Regions from separate parts of the Homo sapiens genome. Here all the other regions are linked to region 2. The links are contacts of gene promoters, found by promoter capture Hi-C in blood cells and fetal thymus (Javierre and others, 2016). All regions are on one chromosome and are shown on one strand. Each heading gives the region's core, a stretch centred on a gene start or on the middle of the fragment in contact. The rest is flanking DNA. Distances are from core to core; before and after follow the strand shown.

Region 1 (3,233 bases), core at 350-2,849, 140 kb after region 2:
TTGCAGGAAAAATATAAGAAAAAGTATTTCATTTTTAAAAAAATCTTCTTAACAATTAATTCATGGATGCTTTGCTGAGGAAAATGCTTTGCAGAGGTTGAATATTGCATGACAATATAAAAAAAGCATTTTTTTAAAAAAAACAAAGGTTTTTAACAAGCAGAATTCATTCATGGATACTCTGTGGAGGAAAATCATGGTGTCCGGAATGTTTTTAAGCTTGACCACTCCTAACTTGAGTAAATGATTCTGGGTGCCTTTTGGGAACATCCACAGTATTGTCAGAGTCTTCTTAGGACCTGCTTTTGAAGCCAGCTTACTGCTTTGGAGGATGCTTTGGGCTGTGCAGGGCAGAAGACTGTGTTTTTGCCAATTGAAAATTCCTGGCCAGGCACAGTGGCTCACGCCTGTAATCCCAGCACTTTGGGAGGCTGAGGCGGGCAGATCACGAGGTCGGGAGATTGAGACCTTCCTGGCTAACATGGTGAAACCCCGTCTCTACTAAAAATACAAAAAATTAGCAAGGCGTGGTGGCAGGCGCCTGTAGTCCCAGCTACTCGGGAGGCTGAGGCAGGAGAATGGTGTGAACCCGGGAGGTGGAGCTTGCAGTGAGCCGAGATTGCACCACTGCACTCCAGCCTGGGCAACAGAGCAAGACTCCATCTCAATAAAAAAAATAAACAAATAAATAAATAAATAAAAAGAAAAAGACAAGAGAAAATTCCTGTGTTGTCAGCCATCCAGGCCATACCCCTTGGTATCCACAAACCCAGAGCTTCTAAAGGAATTAGGATTTGCCAGAATGACACTGGTAAGCAGGCCAGCAATACAGTTCTATTTTTGTTGGCTAATTTAGTGACATTTGTTTTCAGAAGTGTAATTCTAGGAATGTTTACTTCAAGCGAACACCTGTTGTCTCTTGAGCTAGTGTGAGGGATGAGTCACCGTGAATTATAATCATAGTGATAAGAGCTAGCAATTAATTAAGCACTTTATGCTAGAGACTTTTCTAAGCACTTGACTTGCATTGTCACATTTAATTTTTACAAGCACCCTATATGATATGTAATAGTGTCAGCATTTTACAGATGAGGAAACTGAGACACAAGGAGATGATGTGACCTGCCTAAGGTCACAGAGTCCATGCTCTTCATCCCTCATCCCCCATGTCCTTATCCAAGTCTCTCCGAGAAAGGAAGCGCTAGCACTGATAAATATGAGTAGGGAAGTTAGCATCTGCAAATGGTCATTCATTGTGAAGAGTTGTTGAAGCTGTCTCGGGGGGTACTGTTGCCAAGCCATCATTTCAGTATGGTTGAGAATTAGAAAGGTTAAGGCCCTTCTACCACTTGTTTCTGTCTGAAGAAAGCATCTAATATCTGTTAGTGTTTTCTTTTAAGAGTCTGGCCCTTGGTGCTTCTGACATAAAACAGTCTTTCTTTCTCCCATGGTCTGTGCTACTGTATGGTGCAGTGAGGCACTGATAACACCTCCATGGAGAACCAGCCAAAGGGTCTGGTACTCAAGCATTGGATCAGTGGTAAGAAGGATTTCCTATCACCCCTCCCTTCCTCCTCCAACTTGACATCACTCCTCCTTCCATTAGGAAGGCTGGTTCCACATTGTTATCAAGCCATTCTTAGATCACTTGGGTTAGGAAATCCCACAGCCCAAACCTCTTAAGTGATAAGATTCTACTCTGAGCTCCTGCCTGACTCCCTTCTGAACTTGACTTTTTGAAAGATGAAGTGTGAACCCTCTGGAATAATTGATACCCATTTGCAGCCCACTCTCAGTTCTCATTGATGGCAAAGATGCCTGTAATACAGAATAACCTATTTCTTGAAGGCCATATGCCATACTTCACAAAGCCTTTTCTCAGGTGGCATCCATGAAGTGGCAGCCACAGGTAACTGAATCTTCAGGCCTGATCCCCTCTTTACTATATCATAAATATCAAAAGGCAGTTGGGCTGAACAAGAACAAGAAGCACAAGAAATTCTGGATTATTTTATCCCTAAACAATTATCTATAGGCTATGATCCTTCAGGGTGTTTCCTAGCTAAAGTATAGGAACAGCTTCTCATGTTGGTTCAGAGACAGCCGTTCTGACAACCAGGGTTGTCTTGCTTTTCTGAGCAGCTTTGTGTGAGAAATACCAGGTATTAAGAAGTCTGTTGTAGGGGAGAATCATATACAGACTAGTAGAAAAAGAACTTTATCATAGAGGAAAACACCCAGTTTGCAGGCATTCTTCCTGAACACTGCTCTTCCGTCTGAAAAGGTCCTGAGTGTCAAAGCCCCACCTATACCCTGAAGCCATCTCAACAGACTCGGACCCAGACCTTTGTCTCCTGTCATTTTCTTTTCAGAGCATTGCCATCTCTTTTGTCTGGCTGCATCCAACTATTTTTAATTCCCTTGCCTCCCCACTGTCTGCTGAGTGGATAATTAAACATGAAGTACTATGCTTTGTTGAGATTATATTTTTAAAGGACTTGCTACAGGGAACTGAACGGCACCTTCGAAAGACAGACTTTGAGGGCTGGGTGCGGTGGCTCACACCTGTAATCCCAGCACTTTGGGAGGCCGAGGCAGGCAGATCATGGGGTCATGGGTTCGAGACCAGCCTGGCCAACATGGTGAAACCCTGTCTCTACTAAAAATACAAAAATTAGCTGGGTGTGGTGGCGGGCACCTGTAATACCAGCTACTTGGGAGGCTGAGGCAGTAGAATCGTTTGAACCCGGGAGGCAGAGGTTGCAGTGAGCTGAGATTGCGCTAGTGCACTCCAGCCTGGGCGACAGGGCGAGACTCTGTCTCAAAAATAAAAAAAAAAAAGAGGTTTTGAGAAGAAGACCACTAACTTCCAAGAAGTTTATGAGAACAGAATTCAGACATAGAAAAGATACATTCAGCTAGAAAAGATACATTCTAGCTGTGTCTTCATGCTGAGGAAGATACAAGCGTACAAACTTACAAGCTTGTAGAGACTATTGGTTGTTGGTTTCTCTGCTCTACTGCTTAAGAGTGTGGACACCGGAGTTGACTGCTTGGGTCTCTGTCACTTATGTGCTGTGTGATATTGAGCAGATTACCTTATCTCTCTGTGCCTCCAGTTTTTCATCTGTAAAATAGACAATAGTAGTACCTAGCTTATAGAGTTGTTGAGATTGAATGCAAATGAGCTTCCTAGCACTGGCACATGGAAAGTACTCAATCCGTGCTATTAG
Region 2 (3,511 bases), core at 285-2,784:
TCTAACTCAACACATATCCTCAGTCTCTCTGCTTCTCCCCATTGACACTGCTACAACCCTAGTCCAAGAATCTTATCTGTACTGTTGCCATAGGTCCTGAATTCATCCTTCTGCCTCCACTCTGGTCTTCTTTCAGCCTGTTTTCCACAGAGCCTAAGTGATATTTAAAACATAAACCAGATAATATCAGTCCCCTGCTTAAAACCCTCCAGTGGCGTTTCATCATATTCAGAATGAGATCCAACTCTTACCCTCTCCTAACACTCCCGCTCTTATGCTTCAGCGGCACTGCCCTTTTTTCTTTTTCTGCTAACTCATCAAACTCATGGCTGCCTCCGGCCTTAGCACTTGCTATTCTCTCTGCTTGGAATACTCATTCCCCAGATGTCCACGTGACTTACTGCTTCTTGTCATTTAGATCTCAACTCTAATTGTCCCCTGACTTCTATCAGTAGTGCTCCATCACACCATCTTACTTTTCCTAAGGCTTACCACTATCTGAAAATAGCCTGCGTTTCTCTATTTTCCCCTCAGTAAGAATTAAAAGTTCATACTAGGGCCCATTTCCTAGCAGTGTTTGGCACATAGTAAGTATGCTGAAAAAAAAAAACCTTGACTGACTGAATAAATGAACAAATAAACTCACTTTTAATGAGATATCAAGGTTTTATATTAATTACATGAGCCAAGAATTGTGGTTTCATTTTTAAAATGTGAGGACCTACTGGTTTAATCCTTCATACTTCACACATATGCTTGTGCTGGAACTATGACTGTAAATCAATAGCAATACCATCCTCTGTTTTGGCTTCTTCCCCTAACCTAAATAGTTCTCAGATTTACTTTTCTCTCCATCTCCACTGCCACACTGTCACCTTAGTGCAAATGACCATCCTCTCTGGCCTTTTTTCTGTAAGGTTTTAATCTCCCAATATGTATTCTCCAGACTGCAGGCCAGTGAGCTTTTCAGTTGCTGTTACACCCATGCTTGAAAACCCTTTAAGTTTTCATTGTTCTCAAGATAAAGACCAGAATGTGGTCTGGTCCACCACCTCACGTCAGGCCAGCCCTCACTCTCCACTCCAGGCCACACTTTCTCCTCCCCTCCTGGTTCCCGCCTGCCAACTGGCTGGGTAGCCGTTGCTTCCCGCTTCCTGCAAAGTTCTACATCGCACCCATTTCGCCCACTTCTTCAGATTTCAGGAGATTGTTCCTTCCTCGAGGAAGCCCTCCCTGATTAGGCCAAGCGCCACTCCACGTCATACAGCCCCACATCACCATGGGCCTCTCTTTCAGGGCTTTGTTTTATGAGTATGCAATCCAGAATATGACAATCTTATTGACATGCGTCAACGCGAGCTTGCGCTCAATAGCTATTTGCCGAAGGAATATACGGACTAGCGGCCCGACCACTCCTCGCCCCTCCCCTACCACTGCCGCGCACATATTACGCATTAAGCAGGCGCCGCGAGTACGGACATCGCGAGCGCCTGCGCGAAGGGCTACGCATGCGCAGAGGGGCCAGCCCGCTGACAGATTCTCGGTGGCGGCGGCAGCGGCGGCGGCCCTGGACTGCGGGGAATGGGAATCCTAGGTCCCTGACTGAGCACCTCCCCCGCCTCCCTGCCCCCGACATGGCTCAGGAGAAGATGGAGCTAGACCTGGAGCTGCCTCCGGGTACGGGCGGGAGCCCGGCGGAGGGCGGTGGCAGCGGCGGCGGCGGGGGCCTCAGGAGGTCTAACAGCGCCCCCCTGATCCACGGCCTCAGTGACACTTCGCCGGTGTTCCAGGCCGAGGCGCCGAGCGCCAGGCGGAACAGCACAACGTTCCCGAGCCGCCACGGCCTGCTGCTGCCGGCCTCCCCTGTCCGCATGCACAGCAGCCGCTTGCACCAGATCAAACAAGAAGAGGGCATGGACTTGATCAACCGAGAGACGGTCCACGAACGGGAGGTGCAGACCGCAATGCAGATAAGCCACTCCTGGGAGGAAAGTTTCAGCCTGAGTGACAACGACGTGGAGAAATCCGCCTCCCCCAAGCGCATCGATTTCATTCCTGTGTCACCAGCACCGTCACCCACTCGGGGAATTGGGAAGCAGTGTTTTTCGCCATCCTTGCAAAGTTTTGTAAGTAGCAACGGATTGCCTCCAAGCCCTATTCCCAGCCCAACGACCCGATTTACCACCCGGAGAAGCCAGAGCCCCATCAATTGCATTAGACCAAGTGTTCTTGGACCATTGAAAAGAAAATGTGAAATGGAAACTGAATATCAGCCAAAGAGATTTTTCCAGGGCATCACCAACATGCTTTCTTCTGACGTTGCACAGCTGTCAGATCCTGGTGTGTGTGTATCTTCGGATACCCTTGATGGAAACAGCAGCAGTGCCGGATCTTCTTGTAACTCACCAGCGAAAGTCAGCACTACCACCGACTCTCCTGTGTCACCTGCCCAAGCGGCTTCTCCATTTATTCCACTAGATGAACTTTCGTCTAAGTGATTCACTCATCCTGAGACTTTCTTTTTGCAGTGGAGAGAGAGAATAATCTAGTTGGGGCAAACACTGAACTTTGTCAATTAATTTGAGGCTATTTCCTATTTGACCCCTTTTCTTTTTTGAAATTCCCTGAAATGATGTTATTCTAGAGAACTTCTATGTCAGGTTCCTTTGGATACCCTTGAATTCAGTGTAGTAATATTTTCAGACGTTTCCCCAATAAGTGTGTTGAAGCATACATCTTTACGCTGCTAATATGTCTAAATACATATGTTATCCCTTGATTTTTTTAAATAACTGAGAGCTCTATTTATTTATGGGATTATTAAGTTCTGATGAAAATATAAATGTTGACTTAATCAGCATAGTAAACTGATGTTTAAAATTCCATACTTCATGCCCACACTAATTTTTAATGTTATTTTCAGTGGTTGCCGATTTCCATTTGATGAAGAACTATACAGCTTAAAAAAATACGTTAGTTATATCTATCTAGTGGTTGTCTGTTTTACCCAGGAATTCTTGGATATTTAGTTTTCTGGGTACTGAAGTGGATGGGAGGGGGAATGATTAAAGAACAAATTATAAAAGTTTGAACAAATCTTTTCAAATTAAGTATATAAAAGTAAACTTTTAAGAAAAACATTTTTAATGAGATTTTAATAGTAATTCTAGTCAGTCATACAACTATAACTACTATAGAGAAAATAAAATTTTTTCCTTTTTTTTTTTAACCGGAAAGTGCATTTGCTTGGGTGTAATCCTAAAGTGAAATGGGACAGTGCCTTGCAGTCTTTGCCCACTATACATAGGCTAAGGCTAAGCTCTTTGTACTACTGCAAACTTAAAAGTTTTTCAAATGTGGGAAACGTGTGGGAAGGCTTGTTGAACTTTGGCGCACTCAGGTAAACAATACTCTCTCAATTGTTGATATACTTTAAAATATTCAGTTGTGCCTCAGTTCCAGAAATTATTGCCAAACAGGAGCCACAGCAATTTTTGGCTACTTTTCTGCT
Region 3 (3,436 bases), core at 389-2,888, 130 kb before region 2:
TGTATTCAATTTGATTCTCCTGACCTTAATCCCTTAGCAAAGTGGTTCTGAAATTTAAGCATGCATCAGAATCACCTGGAAGTCTTGTTAAAGCACAGATTGCTGGTCTCTGATTCAGGAGGCCTAGAGTTTCTGATTCAGAAGGTCTGGGATAGGGTCAAAGGATTTGCATTTCTAACAAGATCCCAGGTGATGTCAATGCTGTTGGTTCAGGCACACTTTGAGAACCTCTGTTTTATTGGCTCCTCAAGAAAAGAGAATCTGTTTCTTTAAGAACCTAGCAGTGGATAAATTTGCTGTTTGGCATTTTTAACAGCAGCCTGCAGAGCATGTCAACAAGGGTATAATTTCCAGCTTACCAAGGGCAACACAGTAGAGTTGTGACTATCCTGAGAGCCACTGAGCCACTGCATATTACCCTATGGGTAATGAGGAAGAGAAGTCATCTAACCTTAGTGGGTAAGCCCTGGTTGTTGTGTGGCCTGCCCAGACCTCTGAACCTGCCCATCTCTCAAGACTATGGATGATAGCAGCAGCTGTGTGTGCTGATGGGTAGCCTGCATTTCAGTTTCTGTCTCAGCAGCTCAAATAGCTCAGCCCAAAAAGCACTAGTCCTCGAAATACAAAGAGCATGAAGAAAGCAGGATGGCATCTCCAGCTCCACTTTATCCCTACTGATGATTTGGAAGGTGAGATGATTTCTTCTGTGATCGTAGCCATCCACCCTCCTGTGAAACCCTTTCCAATCATAAAATCTGCGTATCTCCCAGCTGTGTCCCACCAAGATGCTTGTGTTGTTTTACCTTTTCATCCTCATTTTCTTCCTAAAATGGCTTGGGGAAATTGTTTTATTCCTAAAATATGATTGTGCCTGTTTTCATAATTGATTTTGAAATCTGTTTTGGATGTAAGGTTAAGGGCCAAAATAAAGACTGGTAAGGTTTAACTATCATTTCATCCATTCAACAAATCTTTAGGATAGATAATAGAGAGACACAAAGAAAGAAAAATGTCCTCATTCTTTTTTTTTTTTTTTTTTTTTTAAACAGAGTTTTGCTCTTGTTGCCCAGGCTGGAGTGCAATGGCACAATCTCGACTCACCACAACTTCTGCCTCCCAGATTCAAGCAGTTCTCTTGCCTCAGCCTCCTGAATAGCTGGGATTACAGGTGCCTGCCACCATGCCTGGCTAATTTTGTATTTTTAGTAGAAACAGGGTTTTTCCATGTTGGTCAGGCTGGTCTCAAACTCCCAATCTCAGATGATCTGTCCCCTTCGGCCTCCCAAAGTGCTGGGATTACAGGCATGAGCCACCGCGCCCAGCTGAAAAATGTCCTCATCATTCTTGTTAAGGAAATTTTCTGAAGCCTCACTCTCCTCACCTAAAAACTGAAGGTAATTATAATAACCCCTATCTTTTGCAGTTACTGTTGTAGTTAAAGAAGGTAAAACTATTAAGTTTTTAGCAGAGTATCCAGTGCATTGTAAATACTCGATACAAGCTGGTTGTTACTAAATTAGGTAGAAAGATGATAATACTGGTGTTTCAATAGATAGGCAAAAAGTATTGTTTTATCACAGTTTTGAATAAGGAAGTTCTTACAGAGGAAAGTGTAAAATTTTATTACATTTCCCATTGCCAACATTACTATCCAAATATTTACTTACATTAATCACAGGCCTCTGCTTAAGGTGAATTGCGTATTGCCTATAAGCTAGTATAAGGTGTATTTTTACAGTAATTCTATCTACCACATGTATGATGACCACTGCTACTAAGTAATAATAACTACAATATTCCTCCAGCCCTTGCCATGTACTATGCTCTATTCCTAAATGCTTTACAAGTATGATCTCATTTAACCCTCAAGACCACTCTAGGAAATAAACACTACTTTTCATGGTCCTTTTACATATGAGGAAACAGATACCCAGAGAGTTTAAATGACAAGGAAAACTTCATGAAGGCCAGGCACGGTGACTCACGCCTGTAATCCCAGCACTTTGGGAGGCCGAGGCAGGTGGATTACCTGAGGTCAGAAGTTCAAGAGCAGCCTGGCCAACATATAGTGAAATCCTGTCTCTACTGAAAAATACAAAAATTAGCTGGGTGTGGTGATGCACACCTGTAGTCCCAGCTACTTGGGAAGCTGAGGCAGGAGAATTGCTTGAACCTGGGAGGCAGAGGTTGCAGTGAGCTGAGATCTCACCATTGCACTCCAGCCTGGGCAACAGAGCAAGACTCTGTCTCTCAAAGGAGGAGAAAAAGAAAACTTCATGCAGCTCTTACTACAAACATGTGGGTATACTTTTCAGATATGTGCATGTGAATCTGTCGGGGGAAAATTATCAGGCATGTAAGTGTTTCTAGGTCTTACACCAAAGAGGATGCTGGCCCCACTGTCCCATTTCTTCTCCTTTCCCCATCTAAGGAAGGTCCCAGTTTGCCAGATGGTCTACCATGTTGGACTTTTATGCTGCAAAATTATTAAGAAAGATGGAGGGATGAGAACTGAAGCTACCATGATAATCCCTCTTGCCTCTGATGGTTGCTATTATGGAGTGAGAAGTGTATCCCCATTGTAGTAGGATTCTTATCTACAAAATGGGAGCTACACTATTTGAATTTCATGTGAGGCCCTCAGTACACTTTATCTGTGTTGATCCCATTATGCCACAGCTTTCTCTTTACCTCACTGTCTCCATTTGTGAAATATGATTAAGAATGTGGCGTACCCCACAGGACTGTTGTGAGGAATGACTCATGGTTATGAAGGAGTTTGTACAATGCAACATTCTATTTAGGGCTTCAGTATGTTTTTTATGGTTTTCAAGGACTAATTTTCAAAGCAATATGACAAAGTAGATAGAAACCTTTTCAGAAATGTTGGAGAAAGTGATTACTAATGTTAGTCAATAGTCATCATTTCATCACCTAAAAATAGATGCAACTTTGACCTTTGGTCATGCAGCAAATATAATATTTAAGAACCTGAAGAAAAGGAGAGAAACTTGGGTTAGGGCTGTGGGAGGGGTTTGGGGAGTGATGAAAAAAGAAATATGGGGGTTGATGCAATGTATATTGAAAGTGAGTGAAAGATAAAGGAGGAACTCTGAGAGGTACGTATTCGTATGTGTTCTCAATAAATATCTTCAGTTCTTCAATGACTTTTTGGATACCTAATTGGGTTTCTTTGATAGACAGACTGCTTTGAAACTGGACCATATAGATGGACAACTTTTAAACATTACAGGTGCATATTTAAAACACTATAACTTTATCAAAATTCTTCCAATCATATATGCTTATTTGCAATATAATATGCTGGTGACAACAAAATTTGTAAAACTTCATTCTGTGATGTTTCTTACATTACTCAGGGGTCAGAACACCTAGAAATTATAATTTCCTTTACACAAGGCCATGGACTATTGAT

The links. The method cuts DNA at HindIII sites, captures the fragments that hold promoters and counts their contacts. A CHiCAGO score of 5 or more calls a contact.
Region 1: a contact is called between a fragment that was not itself captured here and the fragment with the promoter of PABIR1 in region 2, in 5 of 17 cell types (neutrophils, naive CD4 T cells, total B cells and 2 more). The highest score is 8.0, in neutrophils.
Region 3: a contact is called between a fragment that was not itself captured here and the fragment with the promoter of PABIR1 in region 2, in 2 of 17 cell types (naive B cells and total B cells). The highest score is 8.6, in naive B cells.

The regions. Positions count from the first base shown.
Region 1 is chr9:68,914,049-68,917,281 of GRCh38, forward strand. All of the region lies in intron 8 of PIP5K1B (phosphatidylinositol-4-phosphate 5-kinase type 1 beta), which reads left to right. Among named protein-coding and RNA genes, the nearest start is that of PRKACG, 98 kb to the right of the region's middle. The HindIII fragment of the contact is 2,764 bases long and covers 218-2,981 here.
Region 2 is chr9:68,778,531-68,782,041 of GRCh38, forward strand. PABIR1 (PP2A Aalpha (PPP2R1A) and B55A (PPP2R2A) interacting phosphatase regulator 1) reads left to right here and starts at 1,535. Exons shown (of 1, transcript NM_138333.5): 1 at 1,535-3,511. The coding sequence starts at 1,635. The coding sequence ends at 2,498. The region is part of intron 2 of PIP5K1B (phosphatidylinositol-4-phosphate 5-kinase type 1 beta); the gene reads left to right. RefSeq lists silencers at 1,024-1,438, 1,556-1,795 and an enhancer at 1,443-2,271. The HindIII fragment of the contact is 10,001 bases long and covers 1-3,511 here.
Region 3 is chr9:68,648,703-68,652,138 of GRCh38, forward strand. No RefSeq gene overlaps it. Among named protein-coding and RNA genes, the nearest start is that of PIP5K1B, 55 kb to the right of the region's middle. The HindIII fragment of the contact is 5,031 bases long and covers 1-3,436 here.